Linked DNA regions of Homo sapiens: region 2 is linked to region 1. Evidence: promoter capture Hi-C in human tissues and cell types (Jung and others, 2019). All regions are on one chromosome and are shown on one strand. Each heading gives the region's core, a stretch centred on a gene start or on the middle of the fragment in contact. The rest is flanking DNA. Distances are from core to core; before and after follow the strand shown. Region 1 holds the start of GRTP1 (growth hormone regulated TBC protein 1). Region 2 overlaps LAMP1 (lysosomal associated membrane protein 1).

What was found. The method cuts DNA at HindIII sites, captures the fragments that hold promoters and counts their contacts. A contact is called where the count stands out against the background at its distance.
Region 2: a fragment that was not itself captured here is called in contact with the fragment with the promoter of GRTP1 in region 1 in 1 of the 25 tissues and cell types used here (IMR-90 fibroblasts).

Annotation. Positions count from the first base shown.
Region 1 is chr13:113,360,748-113,366,631 of GRCh38, forward strand. It overlaps GRTP1 (growth hormone regulated TBC protein 1), which reads right to left and starts at 3,383. Exons shown (of 8, transcript NM_024719.4): 1 at 3,273-3,383; 2 at 3,015-3,163. The coding sequence starts at 3,304. GRTP1-AS1 (GRTP1 antisense RNA 1) reads left to right here. Exons shown (of 2, transcript NR_120385.1): 2 at 812-1,121. RefSeq lists a silencer at 2,967-3,261 and enhancers at 4,249-4,942, 4,943-5,636. The HindIII fragment of the contact is 3,925 bases long and covers 1,847-5,771 here.
Region 2 is chr13:113,319,246-113,325,129 of GRCh38, forward strand. LAMP1 (lysosomal associated membrane protein 1) reads left to right here. Exons shown (of 9, transcript NM_005561.4): 5 at 224-411; 6 at 1,100-1,225; 7 at 2,159-2,225; 8 at 2,312-2,482; 9 at 3,037-4,427. The coding sequence ends at 3,176. It overlaps GRTP1 (growth hormone regulated TBC protein 1), which reads right to left. Exons shown (of 8, transcript NM_024719.4): 8 at 4,918-5,332. The coding sequence ends at 5,243. Among named protein-coding and RNA genes, the nearest start is that of LAMP1, 25 kb to the left of the region's middle. The HindIII fragment of the contact is 7,319 bases long and covers 1-5,884 here.

The DNA.
Region 1 (5,884 bases), core at 2,133-4,632:
AGATATATTTGCTCACAGACCCATTTATGCCAGTGATGCTTGCTACCATAATTACATGGTCCACTTAACATTACATAAATTAGCCCAGCATGGTGGCTCACGCCTGTCATCCCAGCATTTTGGGAGGCTGAGGTGGGCGGATCACTGGAGCTCAGGAGTTCGAGACCAGCCTGGCCAACAAGGCAAAACCCATCTCTCCTAAAAACACAAAAATTAGCCGGGCATGGTGGCGAGTGCCTGTAATCCCAGTTACTCAGGAGGCTGAGGCAGGAGAATTGCTTGAACCTGGGAGGCAGAGGTTGCAGTGAGCCGAGATTGCGCCACTACCCTCCAGCCAGGCTGACAGAGCTAGACTTTGACTCAAAAAAAAAAAAAAAAAAAAAATTAAAGCAAAAAGAAGAAAGTTGTTACTTCAATAAAAACAAAATGAAATTTTTAGAAAGAGTTGATAGAGACCAATGCTAAAAAAAAAAAAAAAAAAAAGCAAAAACAAAACTGTTGACTTAGGTGTAAAATAATTGCAAAGGAGTGGGGAAAAGAATAAAAATCTGGAGGATTTTGCATCCGGATTGCTCTTTTCCTTTTCCCTGCTCTTCCCAGAACCCCCTCCCAAGTCCATATTGGAAAGTGGGGGCAATGTGCTGAGTGGTTCCCTAAAAAGGAAAATATGGAACCCAAGTTAGCAGCTCCTGGTCGAAGAAAAGGACAGCAATAGGACAGACCCAAATGGCAAAGGCAAAGACGGGAGAATGACTGTGCAGTTGTGTTTTCTGTAAAAACAAAAATTTATGCACAACCATACATCTTTCAGATTCTCCGCTGTAACCAACCTCCAGGTCACAGCCACAGGACTTCCCACGGACTTCCCCTGCTCTTAAAGCAAACTGCAGAACCAAGCGTGGACTTCTGCTCCTGAGGGGGACGGAAGGACAGTCCCCTGCGGTCATCTCTATAGGAGATGGGGGCCATGGGTGGGAGAGAAACTCCCTGTTGCACTTTGTAGCCCTCAGTATGATTAAAGTGTTTACCATGTACATAAATTATGCTTTTTAAGTTCACATGTCTTATATACTTTTACGTTACTTTTTAAAATTAAAAGACAGTTAACTTTTAAGAATAAATCAGGCGCAGTGGCTCATGCCTGTAATCCCAGCATTTTGGGAGGCCAACGTGGGCAGATCCCTTGAGGTCAGGAGTTTGAGACCAGCCTGGCCAATATGGTAAAACCCATCTCTACTAAAAAATAGAAAAATTAGCCTGGCGTGGTGGTAGGTGCCTGTAATCCCAGCTACTTGGGAGGCTGAGGCAGGAAAATCGCTTGAACCCAGGAGGCAGAGGTTGCAATGAGCTGAAATCATGCCACTGCACTCTAGCCTGGGCGACAGAGTGAGACTCCGTCTCAAAATAAAAAAAATAAGAAAATAAAAAATAAATTAGCCAGGTGTAGTGGTGTGCACCTGTAATCCCAGCTACTCAGGAGGCTGAGGCAGGAGAATCACTTGAACCCAGGAGGTGGAGGTTGCAGTCAGCTGAGATCGCACCACTGCACTCCAGCCTGGGCGACAGAGTGAGACTCTGTCTCAAAAATAAATAAATCAAAAAGAATAAATGAAAAGGAAAAATAAAGACACACGTTCCACTGGAAACATGTGAACATGCAGAGGCCACAGGGATGGGACATGATGCATTCGTGGGAAGCATATAGGATATTAACTTCCATCTCTATAAAAAATTTAAAAATTAGCCAGGAGTGGTGGCCACACCAGTGGTCCCAGCTATGCGGGAGGCTGAGAGGGGAGGATGGCTGGAGCCCAGGAGGTCAAGGCTACAGTGAGTGGTGATTGTGCCACTGCACTCAGAGGGATACCCTGTCTCAAATAAATAAATAAAAGCAAAAGTTGATCTTGTCACCCCCTGCCTGGAAAACCTTTAACAGTTGGCTTCTCTGTGCCTGGCCGTGGTCACCACACACCTCCGACCCTCCGCCCAGGTGCAGGGCCCCTGGTTTCATCTCTGTCCTTCCCCACCAGGTCCCTACTGCTCGGTCCCTGGAAGCCCAGCTGCCATTCACATCCCCCTTCTCAGGAAGCCCCCAGGACTCCCCTTTGACCCCACTTCTCTGAGTTCCTAGCTCCAGGGCACACTCCCACCAAGCCCTCACCCCAGGCAGACACTTCATTCATTCACTGAACACACAGGGAAGTCGCCTGGCACTGCCCCAGGTTCTGAGGACTGAGCAGTGAATGAAAAATCCGTTGCAGGGAGGAAGGGTTTTTGACTCCAGCAGGGGCTGTGCTGGGAAAGGCAGAAATGAGGAGGTGCCCTCCGCACAGGGAAGCCTGGGGCGCCCCGGAGGAGGGGGCCCTGCAGCTAACCCCGAGGCGGGCGGGCGGTCAGGCCGGTGCTCACCGCAGCAGTAGGAGGCCTGGGGTCGCGGAGGAGCGGCAGGTCGAGCAGGGCCCTGTGGGTCCCGTCACAAGGACGGAGTCTCGCTCTGTCGCCCAGGCTGGAGTGCAATGGCGCAATCTCGGCTCACTGCAACCTCCGCCTACTGGGTTCAAGCGATTCTCCTGCCTCAGCCTCCAGAGTAGCTGGGACTACAGGCAGGAGCCACCACGCCCGGCTAATTTTGTATTTTTAGTAGAGACGGGGTTTCACCATGTTGGTCAGGCTGGTCTCAAACTCCTGACCTCGTGATCCGCCCGCCTCGGCCTCCCAAAGCGCTGGGATTACAGGCGTGAGCCACCGCGCCCGGCATGGATCGAGTTTTGATCCATCCCGATATGGCTCCCTGCTGGGAGGGACGGGTCTCCTTCGCGTCCGACCCGCCGGCCCATCTCAAAGCGGGAAAACCGGTCCCTGCGGCTGCCCTAGCTCGGAGCCCGCAGCTTCGTCCCGACCTGCCCGGAAAGGTTCCTCCCCCTCCCTCCGCTCCGGGAGCCCGGACTTTGCCCGGCCCGTCCCAGCCCAACCCACCTGCGCCCTCGGGACCCACCTGCGCCCCCGGGACCCACCTGTCCGGCTCCTGGGGACGCCCCCGCCCTGCAGCAGCCGGGACCATTTGATCGCCCTGCGGGTGAGCGTGACCAGGTAGCTGGAGAAAAACTTCTCGTAGGCGGCGTCGTCGAAGTCCTCAGGCCGCTCGAATCCGTACGGGTCGATCCTGCAAAACCGAGAGAAGGAGGCCGGCGTCCCCGAAGTTTCCTCTGGGGGGTCGCGGGCCCGCGCGGGGACCGCAGCCGCCGGGGACGCCCGCACCCCGCGCCACACACCTGGGGACCCGCGAGCGCTCGGCGGGCTGCATGCGGGGAGGGAGGCGCGCACCGAGCGAGGCCAGCGGGTCCCAAGTTCGCCTCCCGGCTCCGGGGCGCTTAAGTCCTTCCGGCGGGACCGCGGGCGCGTGGGGGCGGGGCGGGGAGCGGAGAGGGGCGGGGCTGGAGGCGGGGGCGGGGGGGGGCAGGGCGGGGGGAGGGGCGGCTGGGGGCGGGGAGGACTTGGGGAGAGAGGAGGGGCAGGAGCGGGGGAGGGGCAGGGGAGCACCCAGGGCGGGGGAGGGGCGGGGCTGGGGGCGGGAGGACCTGGGGAGAGAGGAGGGGCAGGAGCGGGTGAGGGGCGGGGGAGGGCCGGGGGAGGGGCAGGGGAGCACCCAGGGCGGGGGAGGGGCGGGGCTGGGGGGGCGGGAGGACTTGGGGAGAGAGGAGGGTGGGGGCGGGGCGGGGCCTGCTCCCGGGGCTTCCGAGGCCGCGGCGTCCCGCGGGCAGAATCGGGGGCGCCTCCCGCAGAACCCCCGCGGCCTGGACCCGGGTGAGAGGAGCTTCTTCTGCGATTCCTTCAAACCTCAGTGCCTGGCCGACCCGACTCTGACACCTGACTCCTATTTTTATTTTATTTTTTATTTTCTCCGCTGCATTTCAAGGCCGAGACCAACACACAAATGAGAAGCCCCCAGGGGCGCCCGCCCGTTCCTGCCCCCCCAAACCAGGGACCGGGGTCCCCCCACCGGCGAGCCAGGCCTGGGAGAATCCGGGGCAGCTCTGGTTCCGAACGGCTTCTTCTCGGTCCGCATCCAATGACATTGTCCTGAGATTTCAGCTGCTTTTCGTGTCCGGGAGGCCCCGGAAATTTGCCAGAACTGCAGATTTTGAATTTTGCTCTGGCGACGTGGCAAAGGGGAGCCCCCAGACGTGAGGCGCTGGGGCGACCTCGCCCTGGGTCCCCCAGGGGTCTGGAGCGGGGGCTCCTCCGACAGGCCTCTCCCCGCCTGTAATTTAGGCCCAGGGCGACCTGGACAGGCCCCAGGAGGAGGCCGTCCCCGGACTCCAGACGCACTTTCCTGTGAGAAGCAGCCCGGCCTCGTCTGGGTGAGGCGAGGATCACAGGCTCAGCGTCCCCTGCGCGTCCGTCAGGGCCTTTCGGAACCAACTTGGGACCTTCCCATGGGTGTTTCCGGAATGTTCCATGCGAGCGCCACCCAGGAGCCTGGTCAGCAGCGTGTGGAACGGACCGGTCCCTAAGTGCGGACTCCCGCCTCTGCCTTTCACCCTTCTCCAGCCCTTGCAAGACCGGGGGGCGGGGTGGGGGTCAGTGCCCAGCGGAGCAGAGCCCCCGACACGGTTCCTCCCGTTCCTAGTCTGCTGGTTCTGGGAACTCCCCAAGCTTTCAGCCCAGCTCCTCAGCACTGGCCTTTGGTAACACGCGGCGTCCCTCATTTGAAAGATCACACAGCCCCCACTCTACGGTCTGACCTCCTTGGGATGTTTAGACCCAAGCCAGGAGACAGGGCCATAGCCTCCTGCCCCTCGGCCTACGGGTGCCCCACAGTCCAGGACTGACAGGTGGGCGTCCGTCCCCAGGGTCTTCGAACCCCGTCTGGGCTCCTCTCTGCCTAAGTCAGTGACTCCCTGAACCCCTCTCGGGCTCTAACTGACGCCCGAATTTCCTATATCGCATCCCTCGCGCTTTCTGGAGCAACAGACACAGTCCTGCTCCCCACTTCCCAGCACCCGGGGTCCTGCGCCCAAATCGCCCCACACCGCGCAGCTTCTGTTCCAACCCCAGGCCTGGAAGCCTCACGGCTCCCCTTTTCCCTAATTCCTGCCTTCTGGCCATGGAGATGGGGTTCTAACCTCCCTTTCCCACCACTGCCGTGGAAAGCAGCGTGGCAGGCAGCACGGACCAGGGGCCGCCAGCTCCCGAGCCTGAGTGTGATGGCGGGACTGCCACCAAGTGTATTTTTGGGCCAGATGTAGGGAGACTGTGGGGGAGCAGGTCAGATAAGAGCGGTGCCCTCCAGGAAGAGTGGAGAGGAGAGATACAGAGAGGCCAGAGCCCCAGGCTCTGTGCAGGGTGGGCAGCCAGACCGAGGCAGCTAGAAAGGTCTCCCGCTCCAGCCCAGGCCTGGCCAAGCCCCAACCTGGGACCTGACTGGGAGACAGCAGCTCCTATCTGGAACAGCTCCCACCTGGGACAGCTCCCACCTGGGACTGTGTCCCTCAGGTGCCTCCATTCACCGCCCCCCCGACCCCAGTGCCAAGCACCCAGCAGGCACCCGAGCATCCTCACACAAACTCCCTTTCTGTGAAGCCACCAGCACAGTCAGCCATGATGCAAAAGCCAGGTGCACACCCACCCCAGGAGTGACTGTGCTGGCCACAGCCGCTCCAGACAGCCCTTTCCGGGGGAGGCTTTGCAGTGCTGGAGCTCTGGGTCAGCTTGCCCTGCAGTTCAGGGACTCAGAATTCACCCTCCCCCGGGGGACCCAGCTCCCTTGCAGGAGGCCCTCTTCAGTCTGAGGGGCCTCAGGGGCCACACCAGGGGGCCTCTGTGGGGTCACCACCCATGATGCCCCTCCTCCCTTCAGGAATTCAGCCGTCTTGTTGCTTTT
Region 2 (5,884 bases), core at 2,079-4,578, 42 kb before region 1:
GCCCCACGGGCCTGTGCCTACCGCCCTGAGCCGTCTGCAGGACCCAGCTCTTTCCTGCGCGTCTAGAAAGGCATTAGCGAGAGCCACCTTGGGAGACTGAGAAAATAGTCACCAAGGACGCCAGAGTCCACAGATGTAGTTTTGTTTCTGAGTTTGGATCTTACTGTAACTGCTGATGGTTATGAGAAACCCAGACCTGAATCTCCCTCCACTGCACCTGCAGAGACACGCTGTGAACAAGACAGGCCTTCCCCAACCACAGCGCCCCCTGCGCCACCCAGCCCCTCGCCCTCACCCGTGCCCAAGAGCCCCTCTGTGGACAAGTACAACGTGAGCGGCACCAACGGGACCTGCCTGCTGGCCAGCATGGGGCTGCAGCTGAACCTCACCTATGAGAGGAAGGACAACACGGTAGGGCTGGGGCCTCACCTGGGAGAGGGGGACGGCACGGTAGGGCTGGAGCCTCTGCTCCCTGTGCACTGAGAACACGCGTCTCTGCACGTCATGCTGTTAAGTCAGGATGGGAGCTTAGCTTGCAGGACGTGACCCTAGAGGACAAGAGCTGGCGTCTGTGTCAGTGAGTCCATTTTGTAGGATCACAGCCGTCCTGCTGGTTCCATCATCCAAGGCTGGTGTCCCAGCATGGCCTATTGGGCAGTGTGGCCCACAGAGCCTACAACTTGGCCCCTGATAGAACCTAAGTTTTCTTTACATATTTATCATGGAAACATTTAAGTGTTACATTTTTATAGTTTTCTTTTGAAATAGTTTTTCTCCCCTAGTAGTGACAGGCTGTGGGGTTGTGGGGGTCGACTTGCGTGCCGTGGGGTGAGTTTGCAGGGCTGACTGCTGCAGGGGGAGGTGGTGCTGCTGGTTGCCCTCCACGCGGGGACGCTGCACTCCAAGAGCAGCTGTCACGGGGTCAGGGAGAGTCATCTTGGGATCCCGAAATCTGTACTAGTGTGGTCTTTCAGTGTTTTCCTTCTGGTTTTGGTTAAAACAAATGTGGCCTTGAATTCACGGTTTCAGGACTGTTTGTCTTTTCGAGAGTGTGGAGGACCTGAGCTAGGGTGGTGACTTGCTTGCTTGTCTTATGCAGACGGTGACAAGGCTTCTCAACATCAACCCCAACAAGACCTCGGCCAGCGGGAGCTGCGGCGCCCACCTGGTGACTCTGGAGCTGCACAGCGAGGGCACCACCGTCCTGCTCTTCCAGTTCGGGATGGTGAGGCTGGGGCGGCACCTCTCTGGGGGCGCCCACTGTGTCTCCACCACATCTTTTTGTGCCCTGGGTCTGCTCATGGGAGGCAGCGTTAGGAAGGAGGCGGCCTCACTTTTTTCTGCCTTCCCTTTATCCTGGGCTTTTTAGTTCCTTGGTTCCCCTCCCCCCTTTCCATTCCATTCATAGATGCAGCAGATGATGTGGGCGGGGCTGCTGTGCCCACAGTTGGAGTGGCTGCAGGGGAGGGCATGCAGGCCGTGCGGCCTTCTGGCTTCAGATGCTGCTGCCCTGTGGTTCCGTGGTGGCATTTCTGCCTGGGAGGACTCCTGTGCAGTTAGCAACATAAGACATGAAGCATATAATTGTCACTTGTCAGTCTTTTTAAATCGCTGTGCAAATGAATTAACAGTTCAGTTTCTTATAATTTTAGCTTTCCAAATCATGCTTTCCTGTGCTGTGATAGCTCCTGCAGTCCCCGTTTTCCAGAGACTGACTCTCAAGAGGTCTGGAAGGACCAGCCTGGGCAGCACAGGGAGGCTCCATTTCTGCAAATAATAAAACGAGTTAGCTGGGCGTAGTGGCGCACACCTGTGGTCCCAGCTACTTGGGAGGCTGAGGTGGGAGGATCACTTGAGCCCAGGAGTTAAGGTTGCGATGAGCCGTGATCACTCCACTGCACTCCAGCCTGGGTGACAGAGCAAGACTCTCAGAGAAGGGTCTGGAAGGAACTAACCAAAATTTTCATTCCCCAGAGATACACAACGCCTTTTATAGACAAGATCTTTTGCAGTTTTGTTCTAATACTAGAAATGTAGGAAGTCAGGTTTATTACCCAATGACCATTCACGTTTGATGATAAATGTGTGAATCTACTGGGGTTAAAGATCATCTTTCTATGAATCTGCTCCGTGATTAAAGATCATTTTTCTTTTTAAGAATGCAAGTTCTAGCCGGTTTTTCCTACAAGGAATCCAGTTGAATACAATTCTTCCTGACGCCAGAGGTGAGAACCCACAATCTCTGCGAGCCCCGCCCCCGCCCGCGCGCCCAGGGTATTCTGGAGCCACTAGACCTCTGTGTGTGTTGCAGACCCTGCCTTTAAAGCTGCCAACGGCTCCCTGCGAGCGCTGCAGGCCACAGTCGGCAATTCCTACAAGTGCAACGCGGAGGAGCACGTCCGTGTCACGAAGGCGTTTTCAGTCAATATATTCAAAGTGTGGGTCCAGGCTTTCAAGGTGGAAGGTGGCCAGTTTGGCTCTGGTGAGTGTCACCGAGGGCAGCTGTCGCGGGGTGTGGAGGACGTGCTTCAGACTCCGCCTGTGGACGTTTAGTCGCTTCCGTGTGGGCTGGGGCGACGCCCCTGTTCCTCTGCAAGGAGCTGTTTCTTCTTGCCGGTCTGAGATTCTAGAGGTAACTCCCCCTGCTTTAGAGAGGCCCAGCGTGTCTCTCAGCTGGGAGCCCCTGGTACCATTTGAGAGTAAGGGAATCATTTTAAGAAACAGTGGTGGCGCTTCTCCCATGAACGTTGAATACAACACTGTCATCTGATGTGCACAGAGGCCCTGGACGCAGCACAGCTGTCCGGCCACAGCCCCTGATTCCAGACGGGGGAGAGACGTGTGTGGTTTCCTCGCCGTGCAGAGAGCACCAGTCTCTGCAGCGGCTTCCCCAAGTGACAATTCCAGCTAGAGCTGGAACCTTCCGCCAGGGTTCCTCTTTGCCTTTTGGCTGATGTGGGGGAGTGGTGGGGAGAGAGGCCTGTTTGCAGGCCCCTGTGTGAGCAGAGCCCTGACACCATCCGTCTGTCTTGGCAGTGGAGGAGTGTCTGCTGGACGAGAACAGCATGCTGATCCCCATCGCTGTGGGTGGTGCCCTGGCGGGGCTGGTCCTCATCGTCCTCATCGCCTACCTCGTCGGCAGGAAGAGGAGTCACGCAGGCTACCAGACTATCTAGCCTGGTGCACGCAGGCACAGCAGCTGCAGGGGCCTCTGTTCCTTTCTCTGGGCTTAGGGTCCTGTCGAAGGGGAGGCACACTTTCTGGCAAACGTTTCTCAAATCTGCTTCATCCAATGTGAAGTTCATCTTGCAGCATTTACTATGCACAACAGAGTAACTATCGAAATGACGGTGTTAATTTTGCTAACTGGGTTAAATATTTTGCTAACTGGTTAAACATTAATATTTACCAAAGTAGGATTTTGAGGGTGGGGGTGCTCTCTCTGAGGGGGTGGGGGTGCCGCTGTCTCTGAGGGGTGGGGGTGCCGCTGTCTCTGAGGGGTGGGGGTGCCGCTCTCTCTGAGGGGGTGGGGGTGCCGCTTTCTCTGAGGGGGTGGGGGTGCCGCTCTCTCTGAGGGGGTGGGGGTGCTGCTCTCTCCGAGGGGTGGAATGCCGCTGTCTCTGAGGGGTGGGGGTGCCGCTCTAAATTGGCTCCATATCATTTGAGTTTAGGGTTCTGGTGTTTGGTTTCTTCATTCTTTACTGCACTCAGATTTAAGCCTTACAAAGGGAAAGCCTCTGGCCGTCACACGTAGGACGCATGAAGGTCACTCGTGGTGAGGCTGACATGCTCACACATTACAACAGTAGAGAGGGAACATCCTAAGACAGAGGAACTCCAGAGATGAGTGTCTGGAGCGCTTCAGTTCAGCTTTAAAGGCCAGGACGGGCCACACGTGGCTGGCGGCCTCGTTCCAGTGGCGGCACGTCCTTGGGCGTCTCTAATGTCTGCAGCTCAAGGGCTGGCACTTTTTTAAATATAAAAATGGGTGTTATTTTTATTTTTATTTGTAAAGTGATTTTTGGTCTTCTGTTGACATTCGGGGTGATCCTGTTCTGCGCTGTGTACAATGTGAGATCGGTGCGTTCTCCTGATGTTTTGCCGTGGCTTGGGGATTGTACACGGGACCAGCTCACGTAATGCATTGCCTGTAACAATGTAATAAAAAGCCTCTTTCTTTTTGGGGTGGGCCTTGTCCTTCTGTCAGCTAAAATGGGAGCTCATGAGAGAAGGACGTCAGGGAAACGGGGTTGAGGGTGGTCTCGGTGCAGAGAGAAGGGTGTCAGGGAAACGGGGGGTGAGGGTGGTCTTGGTGCCAGACGTAGGGAATGGTGTTGGGAGTGGCCCGAGTGCCTGGCACAGTTGTCTGGTTCATTCATGTAACATGATAATTTTTAAATCATTAAAAAAATTACCTTTCATACAGATACCATGGAATACTATGCAGCCATAAAGAGGTATGAGATCTTGTCCCCTGCAGGGACACGGATAGAGCTGGAAGCCATTATTCTCAGCAAACTAACACAGGAGCAGAAAACCAGACACCACTTGTTCTCACTTGTAAGTGGGAGCTTCTGATGAGAACACATGGACACAAGGAGGGGAACATCACACACTGGGGCCCGTTGGGTCGGGGGCAGGGAGAGCATCAGGAAGAATAGCTAAGGGATGCTGGCTTCATACCTAGGTGACAGGATGGTCTGTGCAGCACATCACCACGGCACACGTTTACCTGTGCAACAGACCTGTACACCCTCCACCTGTACCCAGAAGTTAAAAGTTGAAGGGAGAAAATGATCTTTCTAAAGAGAAATCACCTACTACGTGCAGAAGCCTCACATAAACTGCACGCTCTGTCACAGAAAGGAATGGAATATTGACACTGCCGCTGTAAGACCTCAGTGACCACTCACTATGTTAATTTCCAGTCAGCTGAGAAACTGATCACAAACACAGGTGTTGGCATACTTTATTAGATACAAACCCACACTCACATTTTATATATTATTGATCTCTCAGGTAAAAATAAGTTTTCTTTAAAAAGTATGACTTCATAGCTAATCATCAAAAGCTGGTAGAATGACCTGATTTTAAACTGCTCTTTTAAAAAATTCACAACTAAAGTGTAGTGATGTCAAGTATTTACAACACTAAAAAGGAAAGCAGTGAAAGTTGGTCCAGTGTCAACTCTGGAAAGGGGCATCGTCAGTGTAGAGACGAGCAACGCAGGGGACAGGCACGCTCACCCCTGTGCCAGCAGCCGGGCCCTGCAGCTCTCGCGGAGCTTGGCGACGGTGGCCATGGATAAGCTTCCAGGTTCTGAAAATATTTTCTGGAAGGCAAACAGTTAGTTTAAAAACAAACCCAACAACCCATTTCTACGTTAGCTCTCCCAGACTGGCAGGCAGGCAGACAGGCCTCGTGTGAGGTGAGGGAGGAGCAGTCCACATCCAAGGGCTTCTGGGGTGACCCACAGATTGTCACCATCTCACTCCTGCCCTGGGGCCTAGGACTGCAGCTTTGCTGCTCAGAAATGTTAAATGAATCAAACGGTGGAAGAAAAGGCCATCTGCTTCCATTAGACTTTTTTTTTTTTTTTGAGACAGAGTCTCACTCTGTTGCCCAGGCTGGAGTGCAGTGGCGCGATCTCGGCTCACTGCAACCTCCGCCTCCCAGGTTCAAGTGATTCTCGTGCCTCAGCCTCCCGAGTAACTGGGACTACATAAGCGTGAGCCACCACACCTGGCTAATTTTTGTATTTTTTAGTAGAGACGGGGTTTCACCGTGTTGGCCAGGCTGGTCTTGAACTCCTGACCTCAGGTGATCCACACGCCTTGGCCTCCCAAAGTGCTGGGACTGCAGGCGTGAGCCACCGCGCCCGGCC